2 separate regions of the Homo sapiens genome follow, and region 2 is linked to region 1. Evidence: promoter capture Hi-C in 16 types of primary human blood cells and fetal thymus (Javierre and others, 2016). All regions are on one chromosome and are shown on one strand. Each heading gives the region's core, a stretch centred on a gene start or on the middle of the fragment in contact. The rest is flanking DNA. Distances are from core to core; before and after follow the strand shown. Region 1 holds the start of TPRG1L (tumor protein p63 regulated 1 like). Region 2 overlaps TTC34 (tetratricopeptide repeat domain 34).

The links. The method cuts DNA at HindIII sites, captures the fragments that hold promoters and counts their contacts. A CHiCAGO score of 5 or more calls a contact.
Region 2: a contact is called between a fragment that was not itself captured here and the fragment with the promoter of TPRG1L in region 1, in 1 of 17 cell types (total B cells). The highest score is 6.1, in total B cells.

Annotation. Positions count from the first base shown.
Region 1 is chr1:3,619,450-3,626,390 of GRCh38, reverse strand. It overlaps TPRG1L (tumor protein p63 regulated 1 like), which reads right to left and starts at 1,376. Exons shown (of 5, transcript NM_182752.4): 1 at 1,118-1,376; 2 at 876-967; 3 at 502-678. The coding sequence starts at 1,318. It also overlaps a transcript of MEGF6 not described here. RefSeq lists enhancers at 340-1,002, 1,983-2,102 and a silencer at 1,303-1,532. The HindIII fragment of the contact is 13,719 bases long and covers 1-6,941 here.
Region 2 is chr1:2,636,008-2,642,879 of GRCh38, reverse strand. TTC34 (tetratricopeptide repeat domain 34) reads left to right here. Exons shown (of 9, transcript NM_001242672.3): 9 at 985-5,894. The coding sequence ends at 1,512. MMEL1-AS1 (MMEL1 antisense RNA 1) reads right to left here. Exons shown (of 3, transcript NR_183343.1): 3 at 6,260-6,524. Among named protein-coding and RNA genes, the nearest start is that of MMEL1, 6.4 kb to the right of the region's middle. RefSeq lists a silencer at 4,643-4,843. The HindIII fragment of the contact is 158 bases long and covers 4,795-4,952 here.

The sequences.
Region 1 (6,941 bases), core at 127-2,626:
CAGAAAATTATCCTACAGCAAAAAGATCAACTCCTGAAAGCTGGTCATTAAATATTTCCAAATTTGTCTTTTAGTGGTATCTATAAATTACAACGGGACCCTCCATTTCTCTTTAAAAAATTAGCCAGAGCAAGACTTGATGTGTCATATGCAATCTGTCCCTGGCTGGAGAAAAATGCAGAGTTTGGACTTTTCCTGAAGAACATCCAAGTTCCTTTTTAACACGCTGGGCTCTACTTCAATGCATCCTGAACTCATGTAAGTCTTTTTACTACCAGCCTAATAGCTGCCTTCTGTGCCAGAATTCCTTTTAATGCACTCAATTGCCCAGAAGTCGCTTCTTTTTAAGGAACTTCCCATTGATATTTGGAGCTGGAGCCTTTGTGCTTATAATTAATGACAGAGAAGACACACCGCTTGGGGGGCTGATTTAAAAGGGCTGAATTGTAAGGTCCACTCTGGTGCTTAGGTCCAGTGATACTGGACTCTGAACAGGCTTACTTGTTGAGCGATTTAGGGGGAAACTGGAATTCTCCGTAGGAAATGGTGTCTACTGCGTTGAGCGCTATCCGCACCACCTGCTGGCACTGGAGACTGATGAAGTCGTATTTACAGATAAGCAGGGACTGCTCCGTGACCAGCACCAGCCGCTCCTTCTCATTGTTCCAGTGATCCACCCTGTAGGCAGAGGAGGGGCCTCAGTCCACACTGGACGCGGCTGTCTCGACTTAGCCAAGGCCAGCCCGCCTGGAAGGGCAGCAGGGGCGGCACGGGGCGCCTGAGCGTGGCACGAGCACCCCGGGAAGTCCTCGCAAGGTGCTGCGCGGCGGCTCGGGGCGAGTCCCCCCACCAAGGAGAGCGCAGCCCCGGCTTACTCGGTAAGCAGCCACACTCCCTGGATCTCGCCGTCCTCCACGGGCCGCACCACCACGCGGATCTCCTCCACTGCCTGCTCGATGCTGCCGGGCTGGGCGGGTTGCGGGGTGGGGGACGGGGGCAAAGATCACAGGTCACAGCTCGCTCCCTGCGGGACCGCCCGGCGCCCGCCTCCGACCCCACCCGCCCCCATCCCGCCCCGCGCCCTCGGCCCCCGCCCCGGCCCTGGCCCCTGCCTCACCCGGAACACGAAGTACTCCTTGACGCGGGCGCGGCGCGTGGGGTCGTGGATGCTGAGAGGCCAGAGTGTCTGGCGCAGCGGCGTCCCCGCCCCCGGCCGCCCCCCGCCCGGGCCGCCGCCTGCCCCCACCTCCTCGCCGGCCGCCAGCACCGCCGTGGGGCTCGTACCGGCCGAGTCCACCGAGTCCCGCAGTTGCAGCATTGCCGCACCCCTTACCGACCCCGACCCTGACGCCGACGCGACCGCCGTCGCCGCAGCCACCGCCACCACCCGGCCGCGCCCCCGGCCCCGCCCCGCGGACCGCCGCGATTGGCTCCGCCTTGCCGGCCCCGCCTCTGGCTCCGCCCCTTCCCGCGTCCGCCGACCCTCGGGATTGGCTCTCCTCCTGCCGTTTTCCGCGATTGGCTCTGCCCCGCCGCCGTTCACAATCGCTCCCGCCCCTCGCCGGGCCGGAAGCGACCGTCACGCGCAGGCTCACTTCCTGTTTACACAACGAGAAGGGGCGGGGCCGAAGCCGGTTGCCAGGGTGTCGCGGAGCGGCTGGGAAGGAGGGGCTGGGAATCTTGGAGCCCCTTGGCCCGCGGGGAAAGCGGGTGACCCGCCCTGCAAGTGGGATGCCCCCTTCGGCCTTCTGGAGCGCAGGTGGGGGCGCGCGCCCATCGGGGGCTCGCACTGCACGGAGGGTCGCGGTGCCGGGGAGCTGAGGTTGGAGGATGCAGGGCGGCGGCCCTGGTGCACCGTGGGGGAGTTCGCACGCCGGGCAGCGATCTTCTGCCGGGACCTGGCGTTCTTCACACACGGCTTATTCGTGACGGATCCACAGAGCAATGCACTCTGAAGCCGGAGGGTAGAAAGTGCTGGAATGCGCGCCCGGGCCCAGGCTGTCGCGAGCCTTCAGCAAGCCAGTGCACACAGAGAGGGCTGCCCAGAGATCCCGGTCAGCGCTCGCAGTTCGAGGTGGAACATGTGTGTGCCCTGCGCTAGCCCCAGCTCCCGGAGGTGCCCCCAGCGCGTGTGGAGGGGGGCGGTGAACGGACCCGCAATCTGGTGGAGGCTGCGGGAAGGAGGCGCAGAGTCCAGGGGTCAGGGTTACCTTCGGGCAGGAGGACAGATCCCTCTGCTCGGAGGTGAGGAAGACACACGAGGCGAGGTGCACACAGGCGAGGAGAGTGAGATGGGGGGAGAATGAGGAGTTCAGGATACATCTGTTTACTTCAGTCAGGGAGTGGGGATGGAGCGGAGTATTTGTAAAGATGGACGGTTTAGAATCGCCGGGATGAGAACCGGGCAGGGAGCTGATCAGGGAAGGGCATGGGGATCTCTGAGCAGCTGGGAGACCCCAGGGAAGTTTGCAGTGGCGCCTCCCACGCGGCAGCTGGGGGAGTGGAAGAAACCAATGCTGGCTGGTCTAGATGGAGGAGTTTGCTGGGTAGCGGTGGTCAAAGACCAGAGAGAAAAGGGAGGCCAAAATCCTAGAGGGAGTGTTGCCCAAGAATGGTGGAGTGCAGGGATTCTGCCCCACTTGCCAGCAGACAGGCCAGGCTGCCAAAGTTGCATGGGCGCTGGCAGAAAGACCCAATACCCCTGGAGTCAGAGAGGAAAGACTACAACAGGAAACGGGCGACGCTGGTGTGCCCAGACGCATGTTGCACCACAGCGGGTGCACTACAAAACAGGACCCTGGATCCTGTGGACCAATGTGGTCTTTGTCCCACAGGGAGGCTGTCTCCCCGGCAAGGGTGCCCACTGCAAGCACAGGCGTGAGAAATGGCCCAGAAAAGAGTGGTCAGGGCAATGTGTTCTTGGCACGCCCAGCAAGACCTGCCAGAGGGACCTACAGACGAGTGTCTCCCAGCTATCTTACCAGCGGGGACCTTGAGGTCCAAGTATCCAGTCCGGTTAGAAATGGCCGCGGATCCAACAGGTGCTGGTGAGTGGGAGAATACCCCTGAGGGAGGAAGAACAGAGGCCGGGAGGGAGCTGAGTGGATGTAGATGAGAAATACCTGGACAGCTGCAAGCTGTAGTCAGTGATGGGCAACTGGAACCAGAGATTCCAGAGAGAGGGAGGGAGAAAGAGGGAGGAGAAGGGAGAATGAGAAAGAGAGGGAGAGAGAATGGGGGGGAGAAAGAGGGAGAATGGGGGAGAGAGGTAGGAGCAAGTTCTGGACCACGCCAAGGATGGAGCTGTGGTCCTGGAACCAGATGTCCAGGGAATGGGATGAAGTGACACTGGCTGGGGCCGAGGCTGCAGACTGCTGGTGGGAGCTGGCAGGACAATGAGGATTCTGAACCAGGTGCCTGAGCCTTCTGTGGATATGGGGAGTGACTTGGATGTCTATAAATTCCAGAAATGATAGGAGGGATAGATGATGGAGGGACTGTATTTTAGACAATAAACAAATTTCACTCAGTATGGATGAGTTTCCTGGGGCTTCTGTCACAATGCATCACAAACTGGTTTTAAAAACAACAACTGTTTTAAAAACAACAGAAACGTGTTTCCTCATAGCCCTGGAGGCCAGAAGTGCAAAATCAAGGAGTGTGCAGGGCCATGCTCCCTCTGCAGCCCTGAGGGTTGACGCATGTCTTGCTCTGCCAGGCCTGCTTGGTGTCCTGGGCTTGCTCATGCACTGCTCCCATCCCTGCCTCCATCTTCACACGACCTTCTCCAGGTGGGTCTCTTCTGCAACATCCCTGTTGGATTAGGGACCACCCTAGTGACCTCATCTTTAGTCGATCATCATCATGTTTGATCAAATAAGGTCACTGTGTTTGTTTGTTTTCCCACTGCTATTAATATGAAGAACTTACCTGAAGCTGGGTAATTTATAAAGAAAAGAGGTTTCATTGACTCACAGTTACACATGACTGGGGAGACCTTAGGAAACTTACAATCATGGCGGAAGGCAAAGGGGAAGCAAGGCACGTCTTACATGGCGGCGGGGGTAGTGGGATGTGCCACACTTAAACCATCAGATCTTGTGAGAACTATGACAAGAACAGCACGGGGGAAATCGCCCCCATGCTCCAATCACCTCCCACCAGGTCCCTCCCTCGACATGTGGGGATTACAATTCGAGATGAGATTTGGGTGGGGACACAGCTAAACCATATCATTCTACCCCGGCCCCTCCTAAATCTCATGTCCTTTTTACATTTCAAAACCAATCATGCCCTCCCAACAGTCCCCCAAAGTCTTATTTCAGCATTAACTCAAAAGTCCACAGTCCAAAGTCTCATCTGAGACAAAGTCCCTTCTGCCTATGAACCTGTAAAATCAAAAACAAGTTAGTTACTTCCAAGGTATAATGGAGGTACTGGCACTCGGTAAATGGTCCCATTCCAAAAGGGAGAATTTGGCCAAAACAAAGGGGCTAAAAGCCCCATGCAAGTCCAAAATCTAGTGGGTTAGTCATTATATCTTACAGCTCCAAAATAATCTCCTTTGACTGCATGTCTCACATCCAGGGCCACACTGATGCAAGGGGTGGGCTTCCAAGGCCTTGGGAAGCTCTGCCCCTGAGTGCCTACGGCTTTTCCAGGTGCAGGGTGCAAGCTGCTGGTAGATCTACCATTCTGGGGTCTGGAGGACAGTGTCCCCCTTCTCGTAGCTCCACTAGTCAGTGCCTGTGGGCAGCAAGCCACCCCGGTGCTGAGGCAAGAGACCGAGGGCACGAGCTGTTCCGGTGTAATAAGATATATAAAATAACAAGAGTTATACTAGATCTAGATCATAGATATGATTATATGTAAATATCATTAATCATTAATTTGTAGTAATTGCTCTTTATTCCAATATTATAATAATCCTCGCTCTACAATCATAACCTAGAAAAAACCAGGCCGTACAGAGATGGGAGCTGAGGGGACATGGTGAGAAGTGACCAGAAGACAAGTGCGAGCCTTCTGTTATGCCCGGACAGGGCCACCAGAGGGCTCCTTGGTCTAGCGGTAACACCAGCGTCTGGGAAGACGCCTGTTACCAAGCGGACCGTGGTCTAGTGGCAGCGTCAGTGCCAAGGGAAAAGCACCCACTACTGAGCAGACCAGGAAAAGGAGTCTCCCTTTCCCCAGGGGAGTTTAGAGAAGACTCTACTCCTCCACCTCTTGTGGAGGGCCTGACATTAGTCAGGCTTGCCCACAGTTATCTGGAGGCCTGTCTCCCTGTGATGCTGTGCTTCAGTGGTCATGCTCCTGGTCCGCTTTCATGTTCCATCCTGTACACCTGGCTCTGCCTTTTAGATAGCAGGTGCAAAATTAGTGGAAGTACCAGAAGTCTCTGATATGCGGAAATAATGGCGTAAGCTGTCTCTCCTCTCTCTCTCCGCCTCAGCTGCCAAACGGGGAAGGGCCCCCTGTCCAGTGGACATGTGAACCACGTGACCTTACCTATCATTGGAGATGAGTCACACTCCTTACCCTGCCCCCTTGTCTTGTACCCAATAAATAACAGCGCAGCCAGGCATTCGGGGCTGCTACCGGTCTCCGCGCCTTGGTAATAGTGGTCCCCCAGGGCCCAGCTGTCTTTTCTTCTATCTCTTTCTCTTGTGTCTTTATTTCTACGATCTCTCATCTCTGCACATGGGGAGAAAGACCCACTGACCCTGTAGGGCTGGTCCCTACAAGTGCCCCAGTGGGGACTCCGTGTGTGGAGGCTCCCACCCCACATTTCCCCTCTGCATTGCCCTAGCAGAGGTTCTCCATGAGGGCTCTGCCCCTGCAGCAGACTTCAGCCTGGACTTCTAGGTGTTTCCATACATCCTCTGAAATCTAGGCAGAGTCTCCCGAAGTTCACCTCTTGTCTTCTGCACACCTACGGGCTCCGCCTGGGCTGTCCCTTGACCCCTTTTGGCCCTGACTGGAGCTGATTTTGCCCCCAAGGCCTCTGGGCCTGTGATGGGAGGGTCTGCCGTGAAGCTCTCTGAAATGTCTTGGAGACATTTCTACAGCTGATGGCTTGAATTTCTCCCCCAGACAATGGGTTTTCTACCACATAGTCAGGCTGCAAATTTTCCAAACTTTTATGTCCTGCTTTGCTTTTAAACATAAGTTCCAATTTCAGATCATCTCCTTGTGAACGCACATGACTGTACACTTTCAGAAAAAGCCAGCTCACATCTCAAATGCTTTGCCGCTTAGAAATTTCTTCTGCCAGATACCCTAAATCATCTCTCTCAAATTCAAAGTTCCACGGATCTCTAGGGCAGGGACAAAATGCTCCTAGTCTCTTTACTAAAATATAGCTTTGCTCCAGTTCCCAGTAAGTTCCTCATTTTCGTCTGAGACCACATCAGCCTGGACATTGTCCGTATCACTATCAGCATTTCGGTCAGAACCATTCAACAAGTCTCTAGGAAGTTCCAAACTTTCCCACAGCTTCCTGTCTTCTGAGCCCTCCAAACTGTTCCAACCTCTGCCCATTACCCAGTTCCAAAATCACCTCCACATTTTCAGGTATCTTAATATCAGTGCCCACTATCCTGCTACCAATTTTCTGTATTAGTCCACGTTCACACTCCTATAAAGAACTACCTGAGCCTGGGTAATTTATAAAGGAAAGAGGTTCAATTGACTCACCATTACACCCGGCTGGGGAGGCCTCAGGAAACTTACAGTCATGGCGGAAGATGAAGGGGAAGCATGGCGGCAGGGGTGACGGGGGCGGGAAGTGCCACACATTTAAACCATCAGATCTCCTGAGAACTGACTATCACGAGAACAGCAAGGGAGAAATCTGCCCCCATGATGCAATCTCTTCCCACCAGGCCCCTCTCTCGACACGTGGGGGATTACAATTGGAGATGACATTTGGGTGGGGGCAT
Region 2 (6,872 bases), core at 3,624-6,123, 990 kb after region 1:
CCCTGCGGGAGCCCAGCAGCAAAGCCGGGGCCGTGGGACCCCCTCGCTCCCTGCACGGACCCCGGGCGTGGGCCTCGGCTTCGCCCCGTGCGGCCAAGCCTGGCGGGGTCCTGGGTGCGCTGCGCCCCCCGGGGGAGGTAGCGTCGAGGACCGCCGGGCTGCTGGAAGAGAGGCAGCGCCAGCGAGAAAGGCGGGGCCTGCACCTTGGCGTGTTCCTCAGGCAGCGGGGAACCCCTGCAGATTCTTGAGCGGAGGAGGAGCCCAGCGAGGCGAGCGGATTTCTGGTCGTGGTTGACTCTGTGAAAAAACTGGGTCAGAGATGAGGCGATTGGGCCTGGGTGGGCTCAGGAAAGTGCCCGGGAGGAGTGGGGGGGGCAGGCAGGCCTGGCCAGCAGCAGCCCACAGCACAGGCTGTGCCCTCCGTCCAGCAGCCCCAGGGAGAGGGGCTAGGGTGCACGTGCTCAGAGGCCTGGAGCAGCCTTCAGAAGGTGGGCAGAGTGGAAGGGCTGGGCAGCAGCCCCCTCAGAGGGCCCGATGGAGAGGTGACTTGGCCCAGAGGGACCGAGGGAGGAGGCCGGTGTGGTCACCCAGTCAAGGGAACCTGGGCCCAGCCGGTGGGGCGGTAGGGCTGCCAGGAGGGGACCATGAGGAGGTAAATCCAGGTCCCTGATCCGAGGCCCAGGGAGAAGAGCAGTGGGCAAGGATGCCAGGCCTTGGGCCAAGGGTCGGAACAGCACTTTGGCAGGTTCCAGGGCAGTGGGAATTGCAGGGAGGGGTCCTCTACCCTGGGTCCCCCTTCCTGCCCTTGCCCATGGTCAGCCAGCCCCTCCAGAAGCAGCGGGCAGCTCCTGTGCAGCCCAGGGCCCCGCCATCCCCAGGGAGCCAGCAGAAGCTGGCTGTGCAGAGGACCTCTGCAGGGCAGGGGCGGCCGGGCTTTTGGGGCTGACCCCACTCTCCCTGCCTCTCTCTGTGTCCTCTGTGCAGGCGGCGGCCCAGGAAGCCGGCACCCTCCTGGACGCAGGGCAACCCAGGCAGGCGCTGGGCTACTGTTCGCTGTCTGTCCTGGCCAGTGGCAGCAGTGCCTGTCACCTGCGTCTGCGGGCCACCTGCCTGGCCGAGTTGCAGGAGTTTGGCCGGGCCCTTAGGGACCTGGACCATGTGCTCCAGGAGGCGCTGGGGGATGGTGACCTCCCAAGGCGGGCAGAGGACTTCTGCCGTCAGGGTCGCCTGCTGCTGAGCCTGGGGGATGAGGCGGCGGCCGCAGGGGCCTTTGCCCAGGCCCTGAAGCTGGCGCCCTCCTTGGCCCAGAACAGCCTGTGCAGGCAGCCAGGCCGGGCCCCCACTGCACGCATGTTCCTTCTCCGCGGGCAGTGCTGCCTGGAGGAGCAGCGTCACGCAGAGGCCTGGACGGCGGTAGAGAGCGGCCTCCTGGTGGACCCCGACCACCGTGGCCTGAAGAGACTGAAGGCCAGAATCCGGAGGGAGGCATCCTCAGGCTGCTGGCTACAGTGACTGGGCCTGACCCTCTCCCAGCCCTAATCACGGGGCCACCCTAGCATCTGCACCTGATGTCCAGGCCCAGGGGTGTACCCAGCTCCCTAAATCGGGGAGGTACCTGCCCTGCCCTCTCCACACCCCCTTCCCAGCCCTCCCCACACACCCCTTCCCAACCCTCCCCACAACCCCCCTTCCCAACCCTCCCCACAGCCCCCCTTCCCACCCTCCCCACACACCCCTTCCCAGCCCTCCCCCTTCCCAGCCCTCCCCACACCACCTTCCCAGCCCTCCCCATACCTCCCTTCCCAGCCCTCCCCATACCTCCCTTCCCAGCCCTCCCCACACCCCCCTTCCCTGCCCTCCCCACACCCCGCTTCCCTGCCCCAGCATGAGTCAGTGTTGGACAGCCAGCCTCACACCTCTGCCTTGGGAAGGACAGGGGACAGCTTCCTACTTGCATGAAGGGACCATCCTAGAAGCTTCACAGTCCCTTCTACCACCAGCAACCTGGTCCCTGCAGTTGGGGCCCTCTTGGCCCACACCTGGGGCTCAGACCTTGAAGAAGCAGCCCCAGGTCTCGTCCCTGGCCTGGGATCCTACAGGTTGGACAGGTTTGAGGCCAGACTCCTGGGGCCCTTGGGGAGATGGTACCAGCCCCAGAAGCCCCTCCCTGGGTGTGAAGCTGCGTTTTGCTTGGACCCTGAGCCTTGGGCCAGCCTCCAGTAGAGCCTGAGCCCTCTCCAGAGACAGAGCTCCCAAATGGGCCCAGCCAGCCCATACCCCAAGCTGACCTTTCAGGGTGCTTTCATGGGGGCCCTTCATCGAGAATCCAGTGTGCTGGGGGTAAACTTCCTCCCTCCTCCACAGGCCCCTCCCTTCCAAGCAGAGGGACCACCGAGGGGCCCTGATGAGCACAGTCCCCAGGCTCCCACCAGACCTGTCTCCCGAAGCTGCTGGGAGGTATCAGTGCTTCCACAGAGCGAGAGAACAGCTTGTTCTTATACGTGCGTTAAATGTCCCCAGGCCTTGCAGCTGCCAGTGAGCTTGGGGACTTCTGGGTGGGGCAGAGGCAGCCAGCCTTTGCCCATCACTGTGAGTGTCACAGACTGAGGCCTCAGCCCGGGGCTTTCTCTCATGGCCATGGGCGAGAGACATGCTGGGTGAGCTGACTCGGTGCAAAACGTGCCCCCAAGCCCTGCCTGACTTCACCCTGGGGAGACAGGGCCACGACCCCCCCTCCTGGCTTCTCTCTCCTCCTGGGCACTTGCATTTGTCCCATTTCTGTCCCCTTCTCTGCCGCTTCCTTCCATGGTCTTGAACCCACAGATAGACCCCCTGCCTCTCCACCCACTTCGCTTCTGGGATCATCTGACGAACCCCAGTCCAGGGGGTCAGGCAGGGAGGGGCCCTATTCCTCGCCCTGCATGGAAGTGGGGCCCCCAGGCGGCAGGTGCAGGGCTGGGTAGCCCCCCTCCTCCTCAGGCCTCACCCACTCCTCAACCCCCATGCACCTTCATCAGCTGGCACCGCCTATGTGTCTCTGGCCACAGGGGTCTGGGTAAAGGGTCAGTGCCTCCCACCTTGAGTACCTCGGGGATGGGCAGCCCACAGTGGGAGAGGGCCCTGACAGGGACCTTCAGCCCCGCTCCTCGCCTTCCCCGCTCGGAATCTTCACGCAGTCCCCCTCTTCCGGGGTTCCCCAGCGCAGGCACCAATTTGATCCATCTTCCGCCTGCCAGCTCCCCATCCACCCTTCCCTCCCTGTCTTCACCCGTGTGCTCAAGGACTCAACAAACACCTGTCAGCAGCCCAAGAGCTAAGTTCAGGGACACGCAAGTTCCTCGGGTCAGGTGGGCCAGTCGGCACTGAGGCAGAGGAGGCAAGGGCTGGTCCAGAGAGCCTGGTCACAGCAGAAGGGCCTGCTCCAATGTCGGGGCCAGGTGGAGGCAGTGGGGAGGCGTCCCCTAGGGGTGCCCTTCCCCACCACGTTCCCTGCTCCTACCGTCCTCCTCGCCTGGGATGTCCTGCCCCATCCATCCGTGCAAGGCTGAGTGTAGATGCCAGCCCCGCTGAGGCTCCTCCTGGACCTCAGGATCGCTGTGTTTCTCCCCCACCAGGGGGCTGCCCCCTCTACCACCAGCTCACCCAGCAGGTATCTCTCATCAGCCTTTGGCCTGGCTCCTTGCTGGGCTCTGAATGTCTGCATTCCCCCAAACTTTATGTGTTGCGATCCTAACCCCCAAGGTTATGGTATCAGAAGTGGGGCTTTTGGGAGATGACCAGGGGTGGAACCTCATGAGTGGGATTAGTGTCCTTATAAAAGAGACCCCAGAGTTCTCCCAAGCCCCTCCACCATGTGGAGACCCAGTGAGAAGCTGTCTGTGAACCAGGAAGGGATCCTCACTAGAGAGCGAGCTGGCACCTTCATCTTGGGCTTCCAGCCTCCAGAACTGTGAGAAATAAGTATCTGTTGATGAACCACCTGTCTCTGCTATTCTGTTGGGGCAGTCCAGATAGACAAAGACATGCCCGTTCCCGCGGCCCACCACCTCTGCCCTGAGCACAGTGGGTGAGTCTCGGTTCCCCTTATCCCATCCCTGCTGGGGTCCAGCCCTGGCTTTTCCTGAGGTAGTTTCTCCAGGACCAAGCAGACACCCACAACCAGCAGCCCTTAAGGCATGGACGCACTCGTCCCTGAGGCCTGGGTGTCCCGCCTGGAGGGGCATGTCCACAGCTGCTCTGGGTCCTGACGCTCCAGGAGCTCACGCTGTCTGCAGATCCACCACTTCCCTGGGCAGTCCCCGGCCTGCGTCTTCCTCAGTGCTCAGCTGGAGGTGGAGAGAAATCAGGCTGGGACGGAGGGTGGCCCTTGCTTTGCACGATTCCTGCCTCGACGTTACACCAGGGACATTCCAGCATCTCCCCTTCATTAACTGTAGACCGCCAGCAAATCCAGATTTCATTCAACCAAGTAAACTGGTAGAGTCATTTCCAGCAGCTAATGTGAGCTAGCGCATTAAATTCAGAATCTCTAGTAAGTGTACCTGCATCAATAAAGCCAAGCCGGTCCAGCTGCATTAATACCCTACCCTCCATTCCCACACGGTTCCCAGGTCTCCGTGTGTGAATTTGTAACATCTTACGAGCATTTTGGTGTGAAAGTGGTTCCTTCCTGAGTCAGGCTTTGTACTTGACCCTTCCCCTCCCTGGGAGTACACTGAGGTTCTAGAGGCAACAGGGTGGCTATGGTGGTTAAATAAAATGAGCATCATTTCTAGGCACCTGGCCAGGTAAGCTTATCACAGCATTTTCAAGCAGAACAAAAAAAATAAATAAAGGCTACTCTCAGATCTTGGAGGACAAGCTGCTTCCCCTGGAAGGAGAGGCTCAGAGAACCAGGGGGTTCACAATTCTCAGCTTCATCTGAGCCCAACCAGACATCCCCATGCCAAGCTTCAGCATCCAGTTCCTTCCCACTCAGTGCCCACGTTTCAGTAGTGAGGCTGTGAGTGTGAGCCACACAGCAGTCACACAACTCAGAGTTAAACTGTGCATCCGAGTTGTAGCAGCAGCAGCCCCGAGGCTCTCAGGAACAAGGGACTCTTCCATGGCCATGGCAGTCCTGATTCTCTGTCTATGACTTAAACTGAGTTTAGAGACCTGAACGTGTGGTTCCTTCCTGTTAGTGCTGCTGGACACTCAGGGGACCCCCCACAGCCCTCGTGGTTGTGGTCATCCTCGTGGCCGTGACAGCCTCACACAGCAGCACGTGGGTTCCCGAGGCCCTCAATTCTGCTGGTGCCTCACAGCCAGCATGGGGGATGGCTTGGTTAACTGTGAAGCTCCCCCAACAACACTGTGGGCCAACAGCCTCCCCTTCCCACTGGCCAGGAGATCGGCCTGCAGCCCAGCCCAAGCAACAACCACACTAACCTAATCCCCGGACCCCACCTTTTGATAGTGACAGGAGGCAGACAAATCCTAGGCAGACAGGGACAGGTTCCCAGTGAAACCCCACCTCCGAGCCAAAGACAGTTTAAAGCCTGAAAGCCAAGCTACAAATTAAATCCTCAGCCTGGATTGAGAACCCATCTTCCCATTTGGCTGCTTTCCTCTGATTGATCCCCACCCTTCACCTATTTTACATGTACCTATCTTTTCCTAATTCATTTTCTACACTGGCATGCCCACCTTTGAGTGGTACCTTTGTTTAAGCCTTTTTTGCATAATCAGAAGCCAATCAGCATGCACTCCCCCATTCTGAGCCCATAAATGCCCCGGACCCAGCCACACTAGGAGAGAAACCACCTGACTTCAGGTCGGGAACCACCCGTGCATCCCCTCTCTGCTGAGAGCTGTTCCGTCTCTCAATAAAATTCTTCTCTGCCCTTCTCACACTTCGATTGGCAGCATCTCCTCATTCTTCTTGGACACGGGACAAGAACTTGGGAACTGCCATACATGGGTACAAGCTATAACACAAGCAGGCTGGAACATGCCCAGCCCAGCCACAGGCTGAGCTGGTGAACAGCCAGGTGTGGCCCAGGCAGGCTGAGTGGGTGGGCCACCTCCTGCGGCAGGTAGCATGGCCAAGAGAGGCCTGGGGAGGGGGGGTGTCAGCAGCCAGAGGTACCTGGCTGGCAAAGTGACCAAAGAGGTACCTGACTGTGTCACTTTGAGGGCCTGTCTCTGGGGACCCCCTCCTAGTATGAATTTATGTATCAGTTGGGGTCTACTTGGGAGATGGAAACCACAACAGTGATTCTAATAGCATGAATTTAATGTGCAGAATTTTTCATTAGTTCTGGGTAAAAACAGCTCTAGGGAATCATGGAGGTTGCAACCACAAAATTCAGAGAGGTGACCTGGCTGGCGACACTGGTGATAATGGTCACCTGCCATGCAGCCTTTCAGCTCAGGTGGGCACACTCCTCTGCCCCTGCCCACTTCCTCTCCCAGGTGAATCTTGACCACACCTGTGCCTGGCACTGTGCACACATTCTCTGTTGTTCAACTCTGCGATCAATCTGGAAAAAAAAGAAAAAAAAAAAACCTTTTTAGGAGAGTAAAAGGAAAATAAATCTTGGGGCCCCAAAATCACTAAGCCAAAGGGAAAAGTCAAGCTGGGAACTGCTTAGGGCAAGCCTGCCTCCAATTCCATTCAAAGTCATTCCCCCGCTCGCTGAGATAGATGCATATCTGATTGCCTTCTTTGGAAAGGCTCATCAGAAACTCAAAAGAATGTAACTCTATCTTACATGTGTTGATTGATGTCTCATATCTCCCTAAAATGTATAAAACCAAGCTGTCCTCTGACCACCTTGGGCACATGTCAGGACCTCCTGAGGCTGTGTCACAGGTGTGCATCCTTAATT